Regions from separate parts of the Homo sapiens genome. Here regions 1 and 3 are each linked to region 2. The links are contacts of gene promoters, found by promoter capture Hi-C in human tissues and cell types (Jung and others, 2019). All regions are on one chromosome and are shown on one strand. The core of a region is centred on a gene start or on the middle of the fragment in contact, and the rest is flanking DNA. Distances in the headings are between cores, read along the strand shown.

Evidence for each region. The method cuts DNA at HindIII sites, captures the fragments that hold promoters and counts their contacts. A contact is called where the count stands out against the background at its distance.
Region 1: a contact is called between a fragment that was not itself captured here and the fragment with the promoter of KDR in region 2, in 2 of the 25 tissues and cell types used here (adrenal gland and spleen).
Region 3: a contact is called between a fragment that was not itself captured here and the fragment with the promoter of KDR in region 2, in 2 of the 25 tissues and cell types used here (mesenchymal stem cells and ovary).

Annotation. Positions count from the first base shown.
Region 1 is chr4:55,064,049-55,068,873 of GRCh38, reverse strand. No RefSeq gene overlaps it. Among named protein-coding and RNA genes, the nearest start is that of KDR, 59 kb to the left of the region's middle. The HindIII fragment of the contact is 4,752 bases long and covers 1-4,311 here.
Region 2 is chr4:55,122,963-55,127,128 of GRCh38, reverse strand. KDR (kinase insert domain receptor) reads left to right here and starts at 1,534. Exons shown (of 30, transcript NM_002253.4): 1 at 1,534-1,902. The coding sequence starts at 1,836. The HindIII fragment of the contact is 13,799 bases long and covers 1-4,113 here.
Region 3 is chr4:55,167,160-55,171,432 of GRCh38, reverse strand. No RefSeq gene overlaps it. Among named protein-coding and RNA genes, the nearest start is that of KDR, 44 kb to the right of the region's middle. RefSeq lists an enhancer at 873-1,702. The HindIII fragment of the contact is 3,718 bases long and covers 622-4,273 here.

The DNA of each region.
Region 1 (4,825 bases), core at 686-3,185, 59 kb after region 2:
GTTTCTAGTTCAGGATGAGACCCTGTTCAGGCCTGTCCTTCAGCCTGTAGACTAATTAGACCCTAGAAGACGTTCGTGGAGTCATTTGGAAACTGCACGGGTGCTCAAACATATGGCACTGATAAGGATCACAGCCTTAGAGATAAGGAGCTATTTAACGGAATCTGAGGAAGCCCAGGGTTTGTTTTCATAAAGCTGGACAATGTAAAGTGTAATCCCTACACAGATGTAATTAGCTGTTAAGCGTATTAAGTCCGCAAGGAGAGGACACTCTGGCTGGTTCATAAATTACTGTGAGTCCACCCCAGGGAAACCGAATCAATGGCAGGTATCTTTTCCTGATAGATCATTAGAATGGCAACTAGTGATGGATCAGGAGGGTGATCTTACGGGGTCCTAAGGAAACAGGACATGGAGGAACCACAGCCATGAATGACCAAGGGCCCTGGCGCCTTTTGTTTCCATAAAAAAGGCAGCTTTGAAGAAGTCATAGCTGCCTTAGCTCAGTACGGCAGCCACTCAGTGTTTTCTGCTAATTCCAGGGTTTGGCACTTTGATGTTAGGTTGCATGGAAATGCTAGAGGATCCTGGTGAAGGTTGCTTCCCCTGCAGAACAGCAAATGGATGCTGGGCAAGCCTATTAAAGCTGTAGCTTTGCATGGGGTTAGCAGTCTGGAGGCTCTAAGTCCCATTTCTAGCCAAGCAGTTGCTAAATGGCTTTCACTTCATGTGCCAATGTCATTTCCACTGATTTAATATTAACAATAATAACAAAAATGATAATAACCTAAGATTATTAAGAGCTAATTTCACTAGGCAGAGTAATACACAGTTACATATCTGTTATCTAATGTATTTCTCACAACAACCCTATGAGCTAGCTACTAATATTATCACCAATTTACAGATGAAGAAACTGAGGTTTAGACATGTTAACTTAATGTGTCCAAAGTTATATAGTTAGTAAGTAGTAGATCTGGGTTTTCACTCCAGAAGCTGATTTCAGAATTTATGATTGTAACAAATAATTTGGGGCTCATTAGTAACATTTCTCAATGCCTTGTGGAAAAATCTGCCATTCTTCAGATTCCAGTTGATATCAAGACCAACCAAAAATAAGTGACAAAGATGTATCGACAGAGCTTATAATAATATGTTCTTTCATATATCATTTCTTGCCTGGTCTAGCCTGATCTTTGGAAATTCATTGGGGCTTTTATGTCACAATTAACTTTACGTTGTTTGGGAACTTTTTGAGATGGTGAAAGCACAGAGCAGTCGTGAAAAGCACTTGCTATCATATTTTTGGATTTCTTCAATATTTTATAGAAATGAGACTTCTCAAGCAAATAACCAACAGTTGGGATGGGATGCTGGGGAGATTATCACAAGTTAAAATTTAGGATTTTAAAGTAAAATCTGGCTGGGCACGATGGCTCACACCTGTAATCCCAGCACTTTGGGAGGCTGAGGCAGGCAGATCACGTGAGTTCAGTAGTTTGAGACCAGCCTGGCCAACATAATGAAACCCCATCTCTACTAATACAAATATTAGCCGGTTATGGTGGTGGGTGCCTGTAATACCAGTTGCTCAGGAGGTTGAAGCAGGAGAATCACTTGAAGCTGGGAGGCAGAAGTTGCAGTGAGCCAAGATCATGATATTGCACTCCAGCCTGGGCGACAAGAGTGAAACTCCATCTCAAAAAAAAAAAAAAAAAAAAAAAAAAAAAAAAAAAAAAAAAAAAAAAAAGAAAAAGAAAAAGAAAAGAAGAAAGAAAAAGAAAAAAGAAGTAAAATCTTGAGAAAGGTTCTTTCCTTTGAATTGGCCAGTTAGCCCTCCAGTAGAAGGCTCTCTGGAGAGTGTGGGAGCCTGGGCAGCAGCAGTTACTTCTGGGGAGATGGTTGTTATACAGATACTACCTTTTTGCAAGTTCACATTCTCTTTCTCTTCTGGTCTTCTCCATGCATCTTTCATTCAGAAATATTTGACTACTGAAAATATCTTCTTTGCAAATACAATTTACATTCACTAGAGGCAAACTGTGATGTCACTGATGTCAGATGCTATCTGAATCTTCAATCCACTGACATGTGATGAAAAAAAAATACCTAGGGACAGAATCACTTTAAGTGGAAGCTTAAATGATTTCTCTTAAACAACGAGAGATTCTCCCACCAGACACTCAATTAAAAGTTAGTCCCAGGCTACTCCTGACCTCTGCAACCTGCTGGGTTCTTAGTCTGCAAGAATTAAGCTCTGTATTGTAATACACTGAGTCCATACGTGGAGACAGTATGACTGTCCTGAACATTTAACATACCAGGTGAGCAATAGACATAGAATGGCAAGACAGTAAGTGGCCTTTGCGGCTAAGCAAGGACCAGGTAGGTCTGGAACAGGGAGTGCCCAGGTCAGCCAGGCTATGCTGGGAGGAAAACATAGCTTACTCTATATCTTATCAATTGCCATTTTCTGTGATTTAAGACAGCACCGTATTCAATTTTTCAAAAGTGTGTTGGGGGTGGGGTGGGGCAGGCATGGATGGAAATCTTCTAAATGCCATAGTGCTCATTTCCAGAGCCTTCGTGAGATAACGTCCCACCAGGAGCTGTGTGGGGGCACTTAAGGGTAGCTTTGCCTTAAGGCAAAATAATAATCACAAAGCGATCTTTACTTTTTCTGATAAAGCTCTCCATCTTGCCTACTGGCAGAAGCTGGTGAACGTTATATTTGAGTTAAGCACTAAAAGCAGCAGGGAGCATTGAGATAAATTGCTGCAATTATTAACTTACTTGCTGTTTAATGGCACAAAAACCATCAGTAGTATGGTGGGCTTGACCGGGTTCCCACAGTGATCGTGAGATTTTTGGGTCTGGCTTATTATATTTTATTGGTAGCCCACAGCTTGTGCTGATGGTACAGCCATGACTGGGAAGTGTTAGTGCCTGAAAGGTGCATAGTTGTCTCCTCAGCCAAGTGTACTCCCAGGGCCAGGGCAGAGAGAGTGGTGGGCCAGTTTGGAGTTGTCATTCTCATTTGGGATTCTGTGATTTTTTTTTTTTTTACTATTTATCTCAAGAGACAGCTTTGTTATGCCGTTGCACCCACCAACTGTTCAGATATGGTACTTTCAATGATGTGTATTACGAACTGATGCCGCAGTAGATATCCGAGAGCTTGTTGAACTCTCTTTTAAAAAGGTACTATTTATAACAGCCCTCTGCTAAACATGATTTTAAGAATGTACTTGCATAAAAAAAACTTTTTGAAGTTTGTTGGGAATTTATAGAAACTCAAGGTATGAAGATTGTAAAGGCCTGTACTTTCCACAATGTACCAACCAAAACCATGAGATATTTAAATACTGTATTCATTTGACAGTCCTACCCAAACTCAATATTTGCTAAAAATACAGTAAAAAGGTAACTCTTTACAAAGTATTTCTGGAAAACATAAAATATATACTTTTATTAAATGACTAAGCAGGTTCTTTCACGTCTTTAATCCTTAATGTGTTACAAATATCCAAAGTCACCTGGAATTGGCTTTGGATGGGTTTCGCTATAAATGCCCGGGAAACAGAAGAAATCAATAATGCTGCACTTTAGAAGCCAAGATCTCAGTTCCAGGAGGAACCTAGGTGTGAAAATCTCAAAACAAATCTCTGCTTTGAAGGTTTTAAAAAAACCCAAAACAACAATAACAACAACAAAAACGGTGGAGATATCCTCAAAGGTGTCTATATCAGTCAAGATGCTTTCTGATGTCACTAACAGAAAACCCTGACTCAGAGCGCTTGGCCTCTGAAGACCCTGACTTTACACTAGGAAAACTTGGGGATCAGTGTTATTTAAATCCCCCTAGGGATTCTGAATCATAGCAAAAGTTGGGAACTACTGGTTTTAACAATAAGAAAACTTATCACCTCACAAAGCAGGAAGTCTGGAGGTAGAACGCGCTTCAGCCTTATTGAAATCAGCAGCTCAGTGAAACCTTCAAGGACCCAGGCTTTCCAAGCTCTTGCTTTTCTGCCTTCAGTGGCAGTTTCAGCATCACACAGGGAGCAAAATGGCTGCATTTGGTCAAAACACATAAATTTGGAGGAAGAAGAGATACCATCTCATCCTGAGCTCTCTCTCAGAAGCAAGCAAATGATCCCCAGAAGCTCTCACCCCTACCTCAGATCTCACCTCACAGTTCATTGGTCAGAGGTGGCCCATTGCTAACTCTGCTACTAGCAAGGAGAATGGGATTATCCTTAGACCAATCAGGGTTTCTCTTGGAACTTGGGGTGGGATGGTCAAAGCTTAAAGCTTCATCATGAAGCTCTTGATTGTGTGCCTAAACGAATTGGGGTTCCTTATGAAGGAAAAGGAAGTACAGATGAGAGTAGGCAACCCAATGCCCACCAGGGTATCATTTCTATGAGGACGAGTTGAACTAGAGTGAAATATTTGGCCTCATTTTTCTTTTCACTGCTTTTTTTTGGGCCAGAAAAGTACTATATGTTCTTTGTGAAAAAAGCCAAAAAAATTCGAGATATTAAAATCACTCATTACTTTTTTCCTGGGATAACATTATTAATATTTGGCATTTAACCATATATATCATTATACTATACATATGGCTATTTAATATTTATATGTTTATGTGTGATTATATATATCTCTATATAAATACACAGATATACATATATACACATAAATAAATGTATGATACACACATATGTATAAATATCATGAGATTATAATATACATGGTGTTTTATAATACTTTCTCATTAAAGATACAATGTGAACATTTCTTCATATTATTAAATACTCTT
Region 2 (4,166 bases), core at 285-2,784:
ACTGAGGCAGGAGGATGGACTGAGTCCAGGCATTGGAGACCAGCCTGGGCAACATAGTGAGACCTTGTCTCAAATAAATAAATCAAATTTAAAGGGAAAAAAGCCAAGGCTCAAATAGCATTTATACCAAGCAATTGTGGGAAGAGAAGGGTGACATGTCTACATACTTGTGTTTAAGAATCTGCTTGGAAAAAAAAGGAAACATAAAAATGCCTCTGCCAAAAGAAAAGTCTTTTCACTCTAAGCCTTTTTGTGTTTTTCCAAAATTTTTTTTTGCCATATACATTCATTATATTTCAGCATTAAAATATTTCACCTGTCAACTTGGAAAAGTAAAAGCGTGAATACAGTAAATATTTAAAAACAGATGAAGATAAGTAACAGGTTACATTAATTGTATACAATCAATCTAGTTTGAATTAGGTGTAGATATAATAATTCTGTGTGTTTATCTTGGTGAAGAATGGTCCTTTAGGTTGTCATTAAAAAGCACCTCTGGGAGGTAAAAGACATAGGCATCTGGAAGATTCATATTTAATGAAGTTAGGGGACATTTGATGTCACTCCCCAGGTGTGGGGAGATATGGACAGAAAACCAGAAGGAACGAATGTGGTCAGGAAGGAATTGGAGTTCCCCTCCAAACAGCTGCCACAAGAAGTCCACACACGTGGAGACAGTTGTGCAATTTGGTCACAGAGTGTCCTAGGTGCTTTTGCTTCATTGCTCCTCCACTGAAGCACGCTGGCAGCTGGCCTCCTTCCCCTGGGACTAAGGATATCTTGGCTGGAAGCTCTGCTCTGAAAAGGGGCATGGCCAAACTTTCACTAGGGCTCTTCGTTGGGGAGCACGATGGACAAAAGCCTTCTTGGGGCTAGGCAGGTCACTTCAAACTTGGAGCCGCCAAATATTTTGGGAAATAGCGGGAATGTTGGCGAACTGGGCAAGTGCGTTTTCTGATTAAGAGCAACCAGATTCAGCTTTTTAAACTACAATTATACTGGCCAAACAAAATACCCTTATACAAAAACCAAAACTACTGGCAGGAGTCGCTGCCAGCTTGCGACCCGGCATACTTGGCTGAGTATCCGCTTCTCCCTTGTGGCTCCAAACTGCTGCAGATTCTCGGCCACTTCAGACGCGCGCGATGGCGAAGAGGGTCCTGCACTTTGACGCGCCTGGTGAGGGAGCGCTGCTCTTCGCAGCGCTCCTGGTGATGCTCCCCAAATTTCGGGGACCGGCAAGCGATTAAATCTTGGAGTTGCTCAGCGCCCGTTACCGAGTACTTTTTATTTACACCAGAAACAAAGTTGTTGCTCTGGGATGTTCTCTCCTGGGCGACTTGGGGCCCAGCGCAGTCCAGTTGTGTGGGGAAATGGGGAGATGTAAATGGGCTTGGGGAGCTGGAGATCGCCGCCGGGTACCCGGGTGAGGGGCGGGGCTGGCCGCACGGGAGAGCCCCTCCTCCGCTCCGGCCCCGCCCCGCATGGCCCCGCCTCCGCGCTCTAGAGTTTCGGCACCAGCTCCCACCCTGCACTGAGTCCCGGGACCCCGGGAGAGCGGTCAATGTGTGGTCGCTGCGTTTCCTCTGCCTGCGCCGGGCATCACTTGCGCGCCGCAGAAAGTCCGTCTGGCAGCCTGGATATCCTCTCCTACCGGCACCCGCAGACGCCCCTGCAGCCGCGGTCGGCGCCCGGGCTCCCTAGCCCTGTGCGCTCAACTGTCCTGCGCTGCGGGGTGCCGCGAGTTCCACCTCCGCGCCTCCTTCTCTAGACAGGCGCTGGGAGAAAGAACCGGCTCCCGAGTTCTGGGCATTTCGCCCGGCTCGAGGTGCAGGATGCAGAGCAAGGTGCTGCTGGCCGTCGCCCTGTGGCTCTGCGTGGAGACCCGGGCCGCCTCTGTGGGTAAGGAGCCCACTCTGGAGGAGGAAGGCAGACAGGTCGGGTGAGGGCGGAGAGGACCTGAAAGCCAGATCTAACTCGGAATCGTAGAGCTGGAGAGTTGGACAGGACTTGACATTTTGCGATCTTTCATTTACCAGTGGGGAAACTGAGGCTCAGAGACTGGCCCAAGATTACCCAGCGAGTCTGTGGTCGCCTGTGCTCTAGCCCAGTTCCTTTTCTAGGACTCTGGTTTGCGACAGGGACCTCGGCTGGAGCATGTCCTGAGATGCCGACACACCCTCAGGCTCTTGGGAGGCTGGGGTGGGAAGGCGCCTGGGGTTGGCAGGCAGGAGGTGCCTCCGCAGGCGAGAACAGGCGGTGAAAAGTTGTCTGGCTGCGCGCAACATCCTAGTCCGGGCCCGGGGAAGAAAACCTTGCCGGAATCTCAGGCCGGGTCTCCCGGATCGGACGGTACACTCGGTTCTGCCTCTTTGCGGGACCCGGCCCGTTGTTGTCTTCATGCTCGAACACACTTGCACACCACTGTGTGAAGTGGGGTCTGGAGCGGAGAGAAACTTTTTTTCCTTCCTTGGTGCAGGACGCCGCTCTCCTTGCAGAGCGAAGAAGGGGGGGAATAGGGACTTGTCCTGGGGGCTTTGACAGCTTCCCCAAGGGTCTCCAAGTAACAGCCAACTGTCCTGCGTAAAGCATTGCACATCTTTCAAAGCGCTGTGGTCCTTGGTGTAAGCGCATAGTCAGAAGTTCAAGCTCCGAAAACCTTTCCTGTGGGCCTTGGTACCTAGCTTTAGTGCCATTCCTTCCTCTCCCTGCCGCCTAAAATTTCCGTCTCCTTCAATTAGGAACACACACGTTCTTCATGCAATAGCTGTCTGTCTTTTCTTCCTCACTTTCCTTTCTCTCTCAACCCCTTAGATAATATTTCTTTCCTGCAGCCAGTTTGCTGATATCCAGATTTCCACCCTTTGCAGGGTGAGAAAGGGGAAAGGGTCAGAGAAAGAAAAAAAAAAAGTCGAATAATTCAGGGAAAAAAATTTCTTACTCCCTAAGACAAGAATCACATGTCTTAGAAGACACTCACACCCACATACAGTACCAGGATCATCTGTCCATGGTTACTGAATTTTCTTTATAATGACTTGGTTCAACGGGTCCAGTCCACCATGGACACTCATTTGTCCCAGACAAGCCCTCTCTCTCCCCCTTTCTGGGCAGAGAATGAAGGTCTGGAACATGTGGTTGCTCTGTATTCCACAAAGAAGTGAGTTGCTTTTAAGCCTGGGGTGTTTCCTAGCGTAGTAGTAACGGCAGGCCGGTCGCCCTGAATATAATGGTGAACTTGCCCTTTTGGAGTGCATTACTTGCTTAATTGGATTGGGCTGTAATTGGTGCCATCAAATTCTAGAGACAGAGGCACTGTTGTTTTTCCTTCCCGTCTTTGAGCTGGAAGGGTAACAGTGCACAAATTAATTAATATTGGTTATGGGATTTGAACATAGAAGGGCTTTTTATTGAGTAGTAGCATGTGTACCTCTTACAGTTATTTCTTTAGAACTTTCTGAAGAGTCCAGCTCAAGCTTGCCAATGAAAACGAATGACATTTAATGGAGCAAAAACAAAAAACAAAAAACTATGTTGGTCTACAAATATGAATTTGAAGTTATTGAGAGCCTTGTTGAATAGATTTTTGTTGTAAACGTGTCTCTAGAATAGTATGGCATAGTCTCAGCTTCCTATGAATGAAGGACATACCTTTTCTTTTTTAAAATATTTGTTACACAGGAAAGTGTGTCTAGAATGTGATCTGTGGCAATAAATTATGAGAGACCTTCAAGAGTTTCTGATTTTGGTAGCCGAGTGGGCACAGTTTATTGAGAATCATTTTTACTGCCATTTGTTTTCTCACAAGAATGTGCCCAAATAATGGTTTTTTTCTCATTTGGATGGCAGTGTGAATTGTACATCATGTTTTCAGCATCTTTCTCAACCTAGTGTTCCCCAGTCAAGTTTGAAATCTGTGTTATCCAAATGAATTGTTTTCATTTTCCTTTTCTTAGACAAAGTGGGACTCCAGGTTTCATTTTGCTTTTAAACATTTTGGTTTTTTGTTTGCCTGTTTTGGGGGCAGTTATTTCTTTCATATTAAAAAGTACTGTGCAGGCTGGGTGCAGTGGCTCATTCCTGTAATCCCAGCACTTAGGGAAGCAGAGGCAGGAGGATCGCTTGAGTCCAGGAGTTCAAGAAGTGCCTGGGCAACATAGCGAGAC
Region 3 (4,273 bases), core at 1,231-3,730, 43 kb before region 2:
CCTGGGCTCAAGTGATCCTCCCACTTCAGCCTCCCGAATAGCTGGGACCACAGGCTGGGTGCCACCATGTCCGGCTAATTCTTTTGTATTTTTTATAGAGACAGGGTTTCACCATGTTTCCCATGCTGGTCTTAAATTCCTGAGCTCAATCGATACATCCTCCTTGGCCTTCCAAAGTGCTAGGATTACAGGTATAAGCCACTGCACCTGGCCCCCAGTTTTTCCTTTTTATTTTTATTTATTTATTTATTTTTTGAGACAGAGTCTCGCTCAGTTGCCCAGGCTGGAGTGCAGTGGTGTGATCTCATCTCACTGCACTGAGGTCACTGCACCTCGGCTCACTGCACCTCGGCTCACCGCACCACCTCCCAGGTTCACGCCATTCTCCTGCCTCAGCCTCCTGCATAGCTGGGACTACAGGCACCTGCCACCACGCCCGGCTAATTTTTTTTTTTTTTTGTATTTTTAGTAGAGACAGGGTTTCACTGTGTTAGCCAGGATGATCTCGATCCCCTGACCTTGTGATCCACCTGCCTCAGCCTCCCAAAGTGCTGGGATTACAGGCATGAGCCAGTGCGCCTGGCCAGTTTTTCCTTTTTAAAAATAGTTATAATGAGATATACGCAAATGTGAAATGGTACAGCCACTTTGGAAAACATTAGCAGTTTACTATAAAATTAAACAGACACTTAACATATGACCCACCAATCCCACTTCTAGCTGTTTATCCCAAAGAAATGAAAACATGCCCACACAAAAGCCATGTACGTGAATATTCAGAGCAAAAAAATGAAAACAACTCGAATGTTTATGAACTCATGAATGGAAAAACAAATTGTGGTATATTCATGTGATGTCGTACTACTCAGCAATTAAAAGGAACAAAGCATAAATACACATAATGACATCGATGACTCAAAAGCTGTGTGCAGTGGCTGGGTGTGGTGGCACTCACCTATATTCCCAGCTACTCAGGAGGCTGAGGCACGAGAATCATTTGAACCCAGGAGGAAGAGGTTGCAGTGAGCCAAGATCGTGCCATTGTACTCCAGCTTGAGCAACACAGTGAGACTGTATCTTAAAAACAAAAAACAAAAAACAAAACAAAAAAAACTATGTGCAATGGAACTCAAACACAAAAGTCTATGTATGTATGATTCCATCTATACCTAGAAAAGCCAAAACTCGGGGTCACTTCCAAGGTGGCCAAATAGGAACAGCTCTGGTCTGCAGCTCCCAGCGAGATCGACACAGAAGATGGGTGATTTCTGCATTTCCAGCTGAGGTACCGACTCACTGGGACTGGTTGGACAGTGGGTGCAGCCCACGGAAGGTGAGCTGAAGCAGGGTGGGGCGTCACCTCACCTGGGAAGCACAAGGGGTTGGGGGATTTCCCTTTCCTAGTCAAGGGAAGCCATAACAGACTGTACCTGGAGAAACGGTACACCCCTGACCACATACTGCACTTTATCTGCAGTCTTAGCAACGAGAAGATACCCTCCCATGCCTGGCTCGGCAGTACCATGACCACGGAGCCTTCCTCACTGCTAGCGCTGCAGTCTGAGATCAACCTGTGACACTGCAGCTTGATGCGGGGAGGGGCATATGACATTGCTGAATCTTGAGTAGCTCACAGCGTAAACAAAGAGGCTGGGAAGCACGAACTGGGCGGAGCCCACCACAGCTCAGCAAGGCCTACCGCCTCTATAGATTCCACCTCTGGGGCAGGGCATAGTAGAACAAAAGGGAGCAGACAGCTTCTGCAGACTTAAAAGTCCCTGTCTGACAGCTCTGAAGAGAGCAGTGGATCTCTCAGCATGGTGTCCGAGCTCTGAGAACAGACACACTGCCTCCTTAAGCGGGTCCCTGACCCCCATGTAGTCTGACTGGGAAACACCTACCAGTAGGGGCCGACAGACATCTCAAACAGGTGGGTTCCCTTCTGGGAAGAACCTTCCAGAGGAAGGTTCAGGCAGCAATATTTGCTGTTCTGCAGCCTCCACTGGTGATAACCAGGCAAATAGGGTCTGGAATGGACCTCCAGCAAATTCCAGCAGACCTGCAGCTCAGAGGTCTGACTGTTAGAAGGAAAACTAACAAACAGAAAGGAATAGCATCAACATCAACAAAAAGGGCATCCACACCAAAACCCCACCTGTAGGTCACCAACCTCAAAGACCAAAGGTAGATAAAATCGCAAAGATGGGGAGAAACTAGAGCAGAAAAGCTGAAAATTCCAAAAAACAGAACACCTCTTCTCCTCCAAAAGATCACAGCTCCTCGCCAGCAAGAGAACAAAACTGGACAGAGAATGAGTTTGACGAGTTGACAGAAGTAAGCTTCAGAACGTTGGTAATAAAAAACTTCTCCTAGCTAAAGGAGCATATTCTAACCCATTGCAAGGAAGCTAAAAACCTTGAAAAAATGTTACATGAATGACGAACTGGAATAAACAGTGTAGAGAAGACCTTAATGACCTGATGGAGCTGAAAACCGTGGCACAAGAACTTCGTGACGCATGCACAAGCTTCAATAGTCGATTCGATCAAGTGGAAGAAAGAATATCAGTGATTGAAGATCAAATTAATGAAATAAAGTGAGAAGACAAGATCAGAGAAAAAAAGAGTAAAAAGAAATAAAGCCTCCAAGAAATATGGGACTATGTGAAAAGACCAAATCTACATCTAATTGGTGTACTAGAAAGTGATGGGGAGAATGGAAACAAGTTAGAAAACACTCTTCAGGATATTATCCAGGAGAACATCCCTAAGCTAGCAAGGCAGGCCAACATTCAAATTCAGGAAATACAGAGAACACCACAAAGATACTCCTCGAGAAGAGCAACCCCAACACACATAATTGTCAGATTCACCAAGGTTGAAAGGCAGGAAAAAATTTTAAGGGTGGCCAGAGAGAAAGGTCGGGTTATCCACAAAGGGAAGCCCATCAGACTAACAGCAGATCTCTCGGCAGAAACCCTACAAGCCAGAAAAGAGTGGGGGCCAATATTCGACATTCTTAAAGAAAAGAATTTTCAACTCTGAATCACATATCCAGCTAAACTAAGCTTCATAAGTGAAGGACAAATAAAATCCTTTACAGAAAAGCAAATGCTGAGAGATTTTGTCACCACCAGGCCTGCCCTACAAGAGCTGCTGAAGGAAGCACTAAACATGGAAGGGAGCAACCGGTACCAGCCACTGCAAAAATATGCCAAATGGTAAACAGCATTGACGCTGTGAAGAAATACCTCAATTAATGGGCAAAATAACCAGCTAAAATCATAATGACAGGATCAAATTCAAACATAACTATATTAACCTTAAATGTAAATGGGCTAAATGCCCCAATTAAAAGACACAGACTGGCAAATTGGATAAAGAGTCAAGACCCATCAGTATGCTATATTCAGGACACCCATCTCACATGCAAAGATGCACATAGGCTCAAAATAAAGGGATGGAGGAATATCTACCAAGCAAATGGATGGTAAAAAAAAAAAAAAAAAAAAAAAACAGGGGTTGCAATCCTAGTCTCTGATAAAACAGACTTTAAACCAACAAAGATCAAAAGAGACAAAGAAGGCCACTACATAATGGTAAAGGGATCAATTCACCAGGAAGAGCTAACTATCCTAAATATATATGCACCCAATACAGGAGCACCCAGATTCATAAAGCAAGTCCGTAGAGACCTACAAAGAGACTTAAACTCCCACACAATAATAATGGGATACTTTAACACCCCATTGTCAATATTAGACAGATCAATGAGGCAGAAGGTTAACAAGGATATCCAGGACTTGAGCTCAGCTCTGAACCAAGTGGACCTAATAGACATCTATCTACAGAACTCTCCACCCCAAATCAACAGAATATACATTCTTCTCAGCACCACATTGCACTTATTCTAAAACTGACCACATAATTGGTAGTAAAATACTCCTCAGCAAATGGAAAAGAACAAAAATCACAATAAACTGTCTCTCAGACTATGGTGCAATCAAATTAGAACTCAGGATTAGTAAACTCACTCAAAACCGCTCAACTACATGGAAACTGAACAAGCTGCTCCTGAATGACTACTGGGTACATAAAGAAATTAAGGCAGAAATAAAGATATTCTTTGAAACCAATGAGAACAAAGACACAACGAATCAGAATCTCTGGGAAACACTTAAAGCAGTGTGTAGAGGGAAATTTATAGCACTAAATGCCCACAAGAGAAAGCAGGAAAGATCTAAAATTGACACCCTAACATCACAACTGAAATA